Linked DNA regions of Homo sapiens: regions 1, 2 and 3 are each linked to region 4. Evidence: promoter capture Hi-C in 16 types of primary human blood cells and fetal thymus (Javierre and others, 2016). All regions are on one chromosome and are shown on one strand. Each heading gives the region's core, a stretch centred on a gene start or on the middle of the fragment in contact. The rest is flanking DNA. Distances are from core to core; before and after follow the strand shown. Region 1 has its middle 2.3 kb from the start of BBS9. Region 2 holds the start of SDHAF3 (succinate dehydrogenase complex assembly factor 3). Region 3 holds the start of RP9 (RP9 pre-mRNA splicing factor). Region 4 holds the start of SEC61G (SEC61 translocon subunit gamma).

Region 1 (2,844 bases), core at 131-2,630, about 22 Mb after region 4:
CACATTCCCAGTAGAAAATACCATTCTAGTTTTAGTTTTTTGGGTTTTGGGTTTTTTTTTTTTTTTTAACTGAGACTGGGTCTCCCTGACAGGGTCGCCTAGACTGGAGTGCAGTGACAGGATCACTGCTCACTGAAGCACTGAAGCCTCAGCCTCCCGGGCTCAAACGATTCTCCCACCTTAGCCTTCCTAGTAAGCTGGGACTACAGGCACAGACCACCACACCTGGCTAATTTTTGTATTTTTTGTAGAGATGGAGTTTCGCCATGTCCAGGTTGCTCTCGAACTCCTGGGTTCAAACGATCCACCCACCTCAGTCCCCCAAAGTGCTGGGATTGCTGGCGTGAGCCACCGCGTCCGGCCTCAATATTTTTAAAAATGACCTTTCAGTCAAAGCCTTGGTAATATAACCAGTTTCCAATTGTATTCTGCTATACAGAGAGAGCAGATTTTTATTAGACTTATTGAAATGACCATATTACCATAAGAAGACTCACAAATGGTTTTCTAATTATGGAGGAATCAAGTAAAGAGAAAAAAAGTTTTTATCTTTTTTTACACAAGTATACTCTATCAAATTGCTGTAAATTATAAATAGCTTAAAAGACAAGATTTTCTTAAATCTGGAAAAAACTATTTGAGTAAAGAACCAACAACATTTGAAATAATATCATAAAAACATTGTCTTCATTAGTTAAACTCACGTAATTAATTCTTGTTCTGCCTGATCTTGATTAATAGTTTCATGAACCCACTTTTTTATTACAGTTCTGGAAATTGTTATATTGTCCATTGATCTTCAAGTTGTTAGAAACCCAAATCTAAGAGTATATTTTAGGGCCAGGCACAATGGTTCATGCCGGTAATCCCAGCAATTTGGGAGGCCAAGGCGGGAGGATCATTTGAGGCCAGGAGTTGGAGAAAAGCCTGGCCAATATAGTGAAACCCCATCTCTACTAAAAATACAAAAAATTAACCCAGCGTGGTAGCGCATGCCTGTAATCCCAGCTACTCAGGAGGCTGAGGCATGAGAATCACTGGAACCAGGGAGGCAGAGGTTGCAATGAACCAGGATCGTGCCACTGCACCCCAGCCTGGGCATCAGAGCAAGATTGTCTCAAAAATAAATAAATAAAAATAAAAGAGTACTTGTTAGAATATTTTCCAGGAGTCTGTTTTTTAAAAAAGAATTCAAAACAATAATATGGATGACAAAAACTTAAAATAGCCATGGTTAAAAATCTGATGAAGTTAACAACTGAGAAGAACATTTATTTATTGCTATTATATACAGTATTTTAAGATAACCAGAATTATGACTGGTAATATAATACATTTGTACGAATTTTTTTTAAAGATGGGGTCTTGCTCTATTGCCCAGGCTAGAGTGCAGTGGCACATTCATAGCTGACTGCAATCTCAAACTCCTGGACTCAAGCAATCCTTCTGCCTCAGCCTCTCAAGTAGCTGGGACTACACGTTTGTACCACCATGCTTGGTTTTTTTTTGGTTTTTTTTGTTTTTGTTTTGTTTTGTTTTGTTTTAATAGAGACAGGGTCTTGTTTTGTTGCCCAAGCTGGACACAAATTCCTGGCTATAAGTAATCCTCTGACCTCAGCCTCCCAAAGTGTTGGGATTATAGGCATGAGCCATCATTCCCAGCATACTTGTATGGACTTATATAATTTTTCAAACATTCATATAAACAATATTCCCATAAATGCAAATAAAAGAAAAATCTAGTATCAGTTATCGTTTGACAATATTTCTTATAAAATTTACCAAATAACCCAAATCATTTAATACCTCTAAAAGATGAGAAAGATATGTTTTAATGCTTTCCAGGAGTCCAACTGGAAAATTCCAAAGTTAATTCTACATTTAAAAAACTTAAATTGGAATTTGATTTTGAGGAAGTTTTTAAAGGGCTCAAAACACTGTATCAATACAGAATCACAAGTTACTTGTGAAATAAGTCATTTATATAACCAGAGTGATAATCAAAAGGCTTAAAAAGCCATACAAATAATTACATTAAAACTATCTTAACCATTTTAAACTTCAGGTTAAAAAAAAATCAAATCTAATAAAAGCAACACAGGAAATTATGTTGATAAAATGTATAATCTTCCTTAGGCCAGGTACCAAAAAAGTAAAGAAAAACTTTCTGCAATGTGATTGTTTCTCCTTTTGGGGAGCTCATTTAGATAACCTGGAGGTCGAATCTGATGAAAAGGGTACTTGAATTTAATCAGATACAGGAAGATGTGTCCCAGGTCATGATTATAACAATTCACATGTATCAAGAAAAGCCAAGAGTACAGAATCAAGTTATATTGAAAAAGAGCATTGATTTCTAGGCCTTCAGGATAAACCTTTAGTGTCAGGCCATACCAGCAATTAGAACCAAAAAAAAAAAATTGTATAGCAACTGATGAAAAAATTGAAGGAGAGAGTTACCATCCCAGGCTTTCTAAAGAGGAGAAAACCTGAATGCAATGATATATGACCTGGAAATCAAATAGCAAGACATGGCAAATTTGAACCACTGAGATACGAAATCTGAGAAATTTCAAAAGCAAAACTCTACCTCAAGAAATGATATTACCAGACGGGTGCAATGTCCATAATCCAAGCACTTTGGGAGGCCGAGGTGGGCAGATCGTTTGAGCCCAGGAGTTCGAGACCAGCCTGGGCAACATGACAAAATCCTGTCTCTACAAAAAATACAAAAATTAGCCGGGCGTGGTTACGTGTGCCTTTAATCTCAGCTACTAAGGGGGCTGAAGTTGGAGGACTGCTTGAGCCCAGTAGGTCAAGACTGCAGTGAGCCATGATCGTGCA
Region 2 (2,903 bases), core at 287-2,786, about 42 Mb before region 4:
TGGCAAATTGTAAATAAAGTCTGTAGTTAACAGCATTGTAGCAATGTTAATTTCTTGTTTTTGATCACTGTACCCTGATTATGTAAGATGCTAACACAGGGGGAAACAGGATGTAGGGAACTCTCTACTGTCTTTCTAACTCTTCTGTATGTCTAAAATTATTCCAAGTTTTAAAAAGCTCAATCCCAGTTACCAAGCCTACTAGGTCAACTAACACATTTTTTATTTATGCAGTTCTTTTTTATACCCTCTCTCTCTCCTACAACCTATTATCAATTTTTTCTGAGTTGCTACTCTTTCCTACTTTTTCCCAAAGAGGCTTCCATGTGCTTACATTTTAAGACTTCTTAAAATAACCTTATTTCCTCCCAACAGAGAGCTACTCTCCTTCCTGTACGGCCACAAAATGACCTACCATAAAAGATGTAAAATACTTTAATACAGTATCTTATAGCTTCATAACAATTAGCAATACACAAGTGCTTGTAAATACATTTACATACGTAAATTTTGAGATGCATAAACACTTATTATTTTATAGATGAGAAAATAAGACTAGAAAAATTATGTGATCTGACACTTAAAATGTCAGAGACTGAATCTGAATCCAGTTCTTCAGGCTCCAAAACCAAATTACCTTATTAAAATAAAGTGCTCTGTGTCTGAAAAGCTTCAACTTCCCTGCTTCAGGCAAGCGAATTACATCAAATACACCATGATTTTCAAGAAAGTTCTAAATTTCCCGATTGTTCTAAATGTCGCTCTTAAAAGCTTCAATAATTATACAAAAAAGAATTCTGGAAGTCAGTGCAAAGTTTGTGTTCACCCTAACCATTCTTTTGATTTTTTTTTACAAAGCCGACTTCAGTCATCTCCCCTTCAACTATTTAGGCCGAAGAACCGCTTACCTCTATTTTCATATCAGCTCCAACTCATGCTTTCAAATATCTGAGCTGTCATTCCAATCTCTAATTCCATTCATTTATTTATATTTGCAAATGAAAACTAGGGGCAATCCTGCAGGGCCCCGAGCCCCACGAAATACTCTGAATATCTTTTTTCCTTTACTCAAAAAAAAAAAAAAAAAGTCAAACGACTTATTGCTAATGCATGTGTCTGTTTAATATTTAGCGCAATGGTGCAGGGCGAAGTAACAATGACTTGAGACCGGAGGAAACAACTTTCGCCTGACTTAACTGCCACCAGCATTTTTCTCCTTCACAGTTTGTAATCTCCAACCTTTTGTAATCTTTTTCATGTTACCTGATTTCTGTATCAGCCAAGTGAGAAAATTATTTAAACCCAACCAAAAGCGCTGAGATTAAATAATAAATTACGGAAATAAGCCTTTAAATTTGAAAACTAATAAGAGAACCATTAATTTATTAATGGGCGCTTACTAGGTGCAAAGGCACTTAAAAGGACAAAAAGCTCCTGAGGTTTTTGAGCACTTAACGACGACTTGCTCATTTTTGTGACCTCCTACCCTCACCCTTTGAGCACCTGGCATCTGCAGGAGCTCAAAAGTTGAACTGAATTGGGGACGCTGAAGTAACAGGATCTGCTCTAGTGAGAAACCCGTGGGAGAAACTTTGGAAAGTGTTACCTGAACAGCATTACGCTATTTCAAACAGAACAGGTTGCTGCTCTGTTTAACCCCGCATGGGGGACTGGAACTAGAAACCTGGACACCGAGGAACCCCAAAGGTCTTGGGCAAAGAGAAGGGAGCGTCACTTGCCTCCCATTCTTGCAAGAAACGCTGTGCCTCGTCAGAACCAACGGTCTTATGTCTCCTAAATTCGTCTTTCACGTACTGGTCGCCCAGGGATTTGAGGTCCGGGGGCAGAACACGGTGCAGCTGCAAGACGCGCTTGTACAATGCCCGGACTCGAGAAACGTGCCGCCCCGGCATAGCGCCCCACGCCGACCGCCGACTGCGCCTGCGCAGAGGGACGGCGCGTTCCCGCACTTCTGCGAACTTGCGTATTAGTGAACCGGAAGGCAGACGAAAGAGGGCGCGCGACCTCTATCCGGTTTGGTCCCTTGCACAATCAGGTCCTCCCGGAAACCCAAGCTCCGCTGCGGGCGGAAAACGGGTCGGTCCTTCTCTAGGAGGGGCGTGGCCCTCGTGGAGTCGCGCCTGCGCCTCGTCGTGGCTTCTTCTGGCCTGCGTCCTGACGACACAGGCCTTGAAAGAGAGAGGTCTGTGGTGGGCCGTTGTCATTTCTCAGTCCCACTCCACTGTCTTTTTCATTCAACTTCGTTTCTGTCCTCCTACCAAAGGCCTGAGAAAAGCTTCGTTAAGATCGGGCTCCTCCGGGATTCCTTCCATGGTTCCCAACCCATTTGAGGCATTTAGAGTATTACTGCACCCTGCTTTAGGGATCAGAGTGAGATTAATCTCGCCATCCACTAGCTCACCAACCCACGCTCTTTGCACAGCGCTGTTCTCCCAATTTATACTCTGGGCATGGGCTCTTCCTTGCAAACAACCCAAGTGAGCCCAGAGCTGGCGGACTCCTTAGCCAAAGTCAAGTTGGCTGCTGAAGGATCCTTGGGAAGAGTTTTAAACGTATTGTTTCCAGGACCACGACCCTGGAGATTCTGGTTAAATAGTCTAGGATAATAAGAACGAGGAATCTAGAAATTTACAAAGCTCTATCTTTTGCGAAGGTAATACTGAGAGTAGAACTGGTTTCCAAAGCTGGCAGCTCCTTGTGTTGTCCTTTCCTGTCACACGTTTGGTTCTTCAGCAAATCCTGATGGCGTCACCAACAAAAATGCAGAAATCAACCATTTCGCCCCATGTACTCTACCACAATCTCTCTCCACTGGATATTGTGTTAGCTTCCATATCTGTGTTCAGCTTCTGGTCATGACCAACTTTGGTCATGCTCCAACA
Region 3 (2,883 bases), core at 240-2,739, about 22 Mb after region 4:
GAAAAACAGAGGGGTTCATGGACAGGAGGGTACAACAGAAAGAAAGCACAAAGAGAAGTCAGAGAATATCAAATCACAAAATAATTTCATAGTCAGGTGCAGTGATTCCCACCTGTAATCCCAGTGTTTTGGGAGGCTATGGCAGGAGGATTGCTTGAGGCCAGGAGTTCAAGGCCAGCCTAAGCAGCATAGCGAGACCCCGTCTCTACAAAATAAAAAACTTTAAAAAGTTAAAAAGAATTTTGGAAAGAGCAGTATCACATAGAAAATTAATGAGACTGTATCATCGAGGAGAGCCATGTCCTAAAAGAAAAAAAAAAAAGCTATTCATCATGATGCAAGACTTCAAAATATGTTAATCATCATAAAAGTTGGGCAGTTCATGTGGACAATCGCCATGCAATTGCCCATAATCTATCCCTGCAATACACTTTTTCTATGTTGAATTTTCTTTTTAGTTTGCTTTCGTTTTTCTATTTTCTCTTTTAGCTTTTTCATTATTGTAAATTGTCAGCATTATGTTTTACAATTCACTATGCTATGTATTACATCTTAACATCATTTCTAATACTGGAGGCATCAACTATATAAAGACTTTTAGAGAGTTCAAATTTGTTTTATGCATTTTTTGCAAATATGACTCAATCAAAGCTCATTATTACAATGGTGACTGTGTAAGCATTCTACATATATGCAAAAATGTAGAAATTTCCTCGATAAATAAATAAGTGTCTTTTCTGTACATCTGCATTTGTGAAAGATGAAATTTCTCAGGATCTTGGCTCCTCGGGTGACTGGCACAGTGGTGACGTCATGGTGACCCATCCTGTCAAAAGAGTTAGGTTGTCTCTCATGGTATATCAGATGACCGCAGTTATAAAGCTGGGTGCACACTATTACCGAACATAATTATATGTTTATACATTTCACTTTTTGAACACTTTTTTTTTTTTTTTTCTGAGAGACAATCTCGCTTTTTCGCCCAGACTGGAGTGCAGGGGCACCATCTCGGCTCACTGCAACCTCTGCCTCCTGGGTTCAAGCAATTCTCCTGCCTCAGCCACCCAAGTAGCTGGGACTACTGGCGCCCGCCACCACGCCTGGCTAATTTGAACATTTTTTTATGAATACATTTCATCTGCTCATCCCTATGTGACTGTTGCTAGTATACCTGAGGTGGGTGTGGCCGGGCGGGAACCTCCAGGCTCCCAACTAGCGCCTCGCCCCGCTTCGGCTCCAGCTAGGCGGCGCTCCCCACCCACCCGCAGCAGCCCGCCTGGCGGCTGGGCCCGAGACCCGGAGCCCCTGACTTGGGGCCCGACGCGGGGAGGCGGGGATCGGGTGGCCGAGGCTGAGACTTCGGGGCCGCCGGGGTGAGTTGCGGGGCGGCGGCGGGAGGGGGCGCTGCGAAGCCCCGCGACCGCCGCGCGGAGGAAGTGCTCTCTTGGCTGCCGCCGCCGCCGCCGCCGCCGCCGGAGCCGCGCCGCGGGGGTTGCCCGAGCGGCGCTGCGGGGGCTGACATGTCGTCCCGGCCTGGGCGCGAGGACGTGGGGGCTGCGGGCGCGCGGCGGCCGCGTGAGCCGCCGGAGCAGGAGCTGCAGCGACGTCGGGAGCAGAAGCGGCGGCGACACGACGCGCAGCAGCTGCAGCAGCTCAAGCACCTGGAGTCCTTGTGAGTCCCGAGCTGCCGTCCGCGCGCGGCCAGTCTTCTGAAGCCAGGGGCCCGGGGCGCGGGACGCCGCGGTGGGCGCTAGGCCGGGTCCTCCGAGCCCCCGCGAGCAGGCAGGGGGGCTGGGCCCGGCAGGAGCCTGGTGCGGGCGACCGATGTCGGGCGCCGCGGTCAAGGACTTGAAGTCCATCCTCCTGGCGGGGCGTTCAGGGAGCCAACTGCCGCTCGGCACCAAGCAGAATCTGACTTGGGAGGCCCTGCGCTTCCCTAGCTCCAGGGGGTTCCAGGAGAGTCCAAATGACCCGGGAGAGTGTGGTGTAAAGAAGATTCAAATGTAGGGGAAGGAAATATGGTTTCCCTCTACCCTTCTAAGTTCTTAAGCTGGGCCACAAATTAAATTGTCATAAGACAGATTAACAGGAGAAAAACTTTTAATTATGTACCCGTGCACTAGAGGGCCACAAAAGTGGGAGACAAAGAAGGGCCAGGGAATAGGGGCGTGGGCCTTTTGGGGCGTGGTGGAGACCTTTTGGAAGGGTGATGGGGGAAATGTATGGTGAATAAAGGTTGCTTTGTTATCCCGATGAGGCGCTCAGGCGATAAAAGTTGCCCCCAAGCAGCTGTCTTCCTGATACAGATACATTTACTACAGAAAATTTCCTTTATAGGTGTAAATTTCTGTTTACAACAGGCGAGTCGAAAAATAATAAGAACAAAAGGAAAAAAAGCAGTCATACTTTATTTTAGGCAGTTGAGGGGTAGCTGAATAAGTTATCCTGTGTTGTTTGGTTCTGTTACTTATAGCTCAAAGTCATCAATATGCCAGGGTGGCATGTTTGGGGATGGTGCATTCTTGTCTTTTGCAGTCATTTATCAGGGTGGCGTTTCCTAAATTCTAACACAGACCTCGAGTGGAAAGTTCAGGCAGCAACTCTTTCAGTTCTTGTCCGTGATTCTATAATTAGCTGCATAAAACAACCTTTTCTAAGTGTGGCATTCACTCAGTTATTCAAGAATTCGTTTCTGTTTTAGCCACTTCTAGTTACCTGTGCTAAGTAGGTGTTAAGTATAGCCTAACGCTGCCTCCTTGAATATTTTAAGTTTAGCCTAAAAGTTTCTCTGTACTTAGTGAACTGTAACCTAAGTAGATGTGTAAACAGACTGTAACCTACTGTTATAAGTACCTGAGTCTCAGACAATCACAGCAGCTGATT
Region 4 (3,161 bases), core at 393-2,892:
TAATTTTTGTATTTTTAGTGGAGACGGGGTTTCTCCACGTTGGTCTGGCTGGTCTCAAACTCCCGAAATCAGGTGAGTAGACAATTATAACAATACACTGTAATGAAAGTTATTTGAATGTGGCCTCTCCCAGATTACCTTCTGGTACACATCTCTTTTTGAACCAGATTTTCTTGGATAAGGGGAACCACTGTATGTGTTACTTGATTTTCTGTGTTTTGCTGAAAATACTGTCAACTCAGACATTTGGTGGTTGGGGTGAACTTGCCAACATGTGATTTTATGTTTTTTTGGAATGAATTATTTTTTTGAAAATTATTTATTGAGCATTTACTGTGTTTAGCACTTTACTAGATGCTATATTATACCCACTTGGAGCTTATGGTCTAGTAAGGGGATTTACAGTGTAGGGAGACAGACCGAGGAATAAATAAATAAATGTTAATACAAATGCTATGCAGCAAATGAAGAAGGTATTGTGAAAAAGGAAAAAAGAGCATGAGATAGACAGGATTGCCTTAGATGGTCACTATAGGCCTCTAAGGAGATGACACATGGGCTGAAGTCCCAGGGATGAAGAACTAGTCAAACGCATCTCAGTCTGTTCAGAATTTAAAAGTGACTCTTAAAGCTAAGGCAAGGTATGTGTAGTGTGTATGGACCACCTACAGTCAGATATACGGAGGTGTGTGACCTCTAACCCTGACCCACTGAATCAATATCTGGAGGTTCTGGGGTTACAAATTTCATTTACTAAAAAACTTAACAGGAGATTTCAGTTACTGAAGAAGTTTAAGAAGCACTGAGAGTTGTAACACGTCTTAATGTTCCATCAGCTCTTCCTGAGTTATATTGTTCCTCAGATCCCGTTATGCTCCATTGCTAAAAGGAAACATGGCCGGGCGCGGTGGCTCACGTCTGTAATCCCAGCACTTTGGGAGGCCGAGGCGGGTGGATCGCGAGGTCAGGAGTTCAAGACCAGCCTGGCCAATATGGTGAAACCCCGTCTCTACTGACGGTTTCAGCCATCCGGCGGGGGGTTCCTGGAATGCATCCTTGTGGGTAAGTGGGGAGCTGTGTGTACATTATGACCACTCCCGTAACCAAACCTAGCGTTTGACAAAGGCCTCAATTACAGCGGCATTCATTACCGTGAATGACAGCCAAAGTCAAAGTTTGGGGTGGGGATACTATTTTGAATTAGGCCATAACATTATATTGCTCATAAGCTTCATTTCGACCAACATTATATACATACAAAAAGTATGTACCGTAAGGACACACATCAAGCTGGACCGCAGGAAAAAAAACCACAACTTAGGATTTACCTAGTCAGCCGCTACTAGAGAGCAAGCACCGCGCAAGGCCGCTGGGGCTCGTGCTGTGGACGTGAGTGGGTTGAGGTCGGGCTGGTGGGGTAACCCGGGATCCAGCCGGAAAAAAGGGATAACGCTAGACTCACACTCCTAAGGAAGGCCAACGCCCCAACTAGCGAGCTCCGCAATGCATCTCTTCCAGGAAGCGTGGCCGGGCGCACGTCGCGCTGCGCTTGCGCACTGAGGTTTCGCGTAAGGAACCAATAGGACGGAGGAGTGGGCGGGCTGTTGGCAGAAACCCGGATTCCGGTTCCGGTGGGCCTCCATCAGCAAGCTCCAGTGCTACGTGTCCCTGGCATTTTAGGTGTCGGTTGGGTAGGTGAGTTTCTTCCCACCGGTCGGTACGGGCGAACGGGGCGGCCACACCTTTGCGACTCTTGGGGGCAGCGGGCGTGGGCGAGCCGGCGTGTCTCCCCGGGCGGCCGTCGCGGGGCGGGCGGTAAGTGGTCCCCTGGCTCAGGGCCGGGGTCTGGCCGCCGACATCCCACCAACTCGGCCTCTGGCGGAAGGCAGACCCAGGGCCGCGGACTCCCGGCGAGCTGGGTGGCCGGCCCGCGGGGCTCCAGGGCTTAGCGTCCTGCCCCGGCGTCTTCTGTGCTGCAGCCAAAGATGATGTCCTGCTGCCCGATCCCTTCGGGGTTGGCTCTGTGTGCTGTTGTGGAGTCCTGTCTGGGAAGAGCTGTACTCAGCTCTGGTCCTGCCGCCGCTTCCGTGGTTTAAAGTGAGAGCATTGGTCTAGAGTCTAGTTCGAGAGATCATAGTTGGTTTTTGGATCTCTACCCCTGACATTGAGTGCGGTATTGTGTGTAGCGTGCGTTTTTCTGGATAAAGAATTCTTAGCTTCCTTCGTGACAACTATGATTACAAAAAGTTTAAGCCCTTTGGATTTCAAGAGCAAAGTTGAGTGAAATACTGAGAAAACAGACATTACTGTGTTTTTGCCCCCAGAACGTTGCAGAATTCCTGGTGTTTCATTGACATTATTTCATTTCGTTGTCCACACCCTACACTAAGGAAGGCAACTGGGGCTTACAGAGGTTTACATTCCATAGCCAGTGATTTGAACTACCACCTGGCCACTGTTCTGAGTACTGGAAATGGAGGAAAATACAAATAACACCCTGGCTGCTTTACTTACTATAGCAGTGGCTCTCAAAGCTAAGATCGGATAACATTTCTATTGGGTAATAGATTCCTCAAAAGAACCTGTATGGTAAAATATATAGCCCTGTTTCCTTAAAAGATGTGTTCAAATCGAAAAGTTTGAAATTTAGCTAGTAGCTTCTCAGAATTTGCGTCTTCCTTTAGCCATTCTTTATACTTTAGAAAAGTATGTTGTATTGGCACGTTTTAGAAAAATCAAGGTTGAAATTCACGTTTGCCTCTATTCTAGGCTCTTGCAGCACCGTAGTTGGCATTCACTGTACAAGACACTGGCTTCTGCGTAGTTTAAAATAAAATATGGAAAGTAATTGTTGGATCTCAACACTGATGGTTCCTTAGGAGCGGTGAGGGGACTGTAGAATGAGAAATGGATGGGACTGCAGAGTGAGAAAAGGAATGGATGTGTTACCAATTGCGTAACCTTTTTTAACCTTTTAATAGAGATAGGCTTTTTATATTGCGTGTGCTGTTCTTTGTCAGTGAAGATATCATGAGTAAGATCTGTGCTTTTCTTATTGCCTTTGATAATTAACTGAAATTTCCAAAAATAATATCAATTTAGGCTTTGGAGTTTGTTTTTTGTTTTATTTTAGGAGGTGGAATTGACCCATGTTAGACGTG

The links. The method cuts DNA at HindIII sites, captures the fragments that hold promoters and counts their contacts. A CHiCAGO score of 5 or more calls a contact.
Region 1: a contact is called between a fragment that was not itself captured here and the fragment with the promoter of SEC61G in region 4, in 1 of 17 cell types (monocytes). The highest score is 5.4, in monocytes.
Region 2: a contact is called between a fragment that was not itself captured here and the fragment with the promoter of SEC61G in region 4, in 1 of 17 cell types (fetal thymus). The highest score is 7.9, in fetal thymus.
Region 3: a contact is called between the fragment with the promoter of RP9 here and the fragment with the promoter of SEC61G in region 4, in 1 of 17 cell types (activated CD4 T cells). The highest score is 5.8, in activated CD4 T cells.

The regions. Positions count from the first base shown.
Region 1 is chr7:33,125,844-33,128,687 of GRCh38, reverse strand. No RefSeq gene overlaps it. Among named protein-coding and RNA genes, the nearest start is that of BBS9, 2.3 kb to the left of the region's middle. The HindIII fragment of the contact is 3,349 bases long and covers 1-2,844 here.
Region 2 is chr7:97,116,734-97,119,636 of GRCh38, reverse strand. SDHAF3 (succinate dehydrogenase complex assembly factor 3) reads right to left here and starts at 1,939. Exons shown (of 2, transcript NM_020186.3): 1 at 1,740-1,939. The coding sequence starts at 1,913. RefSeq lists enhancers at 1,762-1,851, 2,202-2,281. The HindIII fragment of the contact is 1,525 bases long and covers 774-2,298 here.
Region 3 is chr7:33,108,010-33,110,892 of GRCh38, reverse strand. RP9 (RP9 pre-mRNA splicing factor) reads left to right here and starts at 1,489. Exons shown (of 6, transcript NM_203288.2): 1 at 1,489-1,672. The coding sequence starts at 1,521. RefSeq lists silencers at 1,114-1,593, 1,604-1,833. The HindIII fragment of the contact is 9,627 bases long and covers 1-2,883 here.
Region 4 is chr7:54,757,692-54,760,852 of GRCh38, reverse strand. It overlaps SEC61G (SEC61 translocon subunit gamma), which reads left to right and starts at 1,642. Exons shown (of 4, transcript NM_014302.4): 1 at 1,642-1,695. It overlaps SEC61G-DT (SEC61G divergent transcript), which reads right to left and starts at 1,540. Exons shown (of 3, transcript NR_110040.1): 1 at 1,329-1,540. RefSeq lists an enhancer at 504-1,439 and a silencer at 1,673-1,992. The HindIII fragment of the contact is 2,422 bases long and covers 1,232-3,161 here.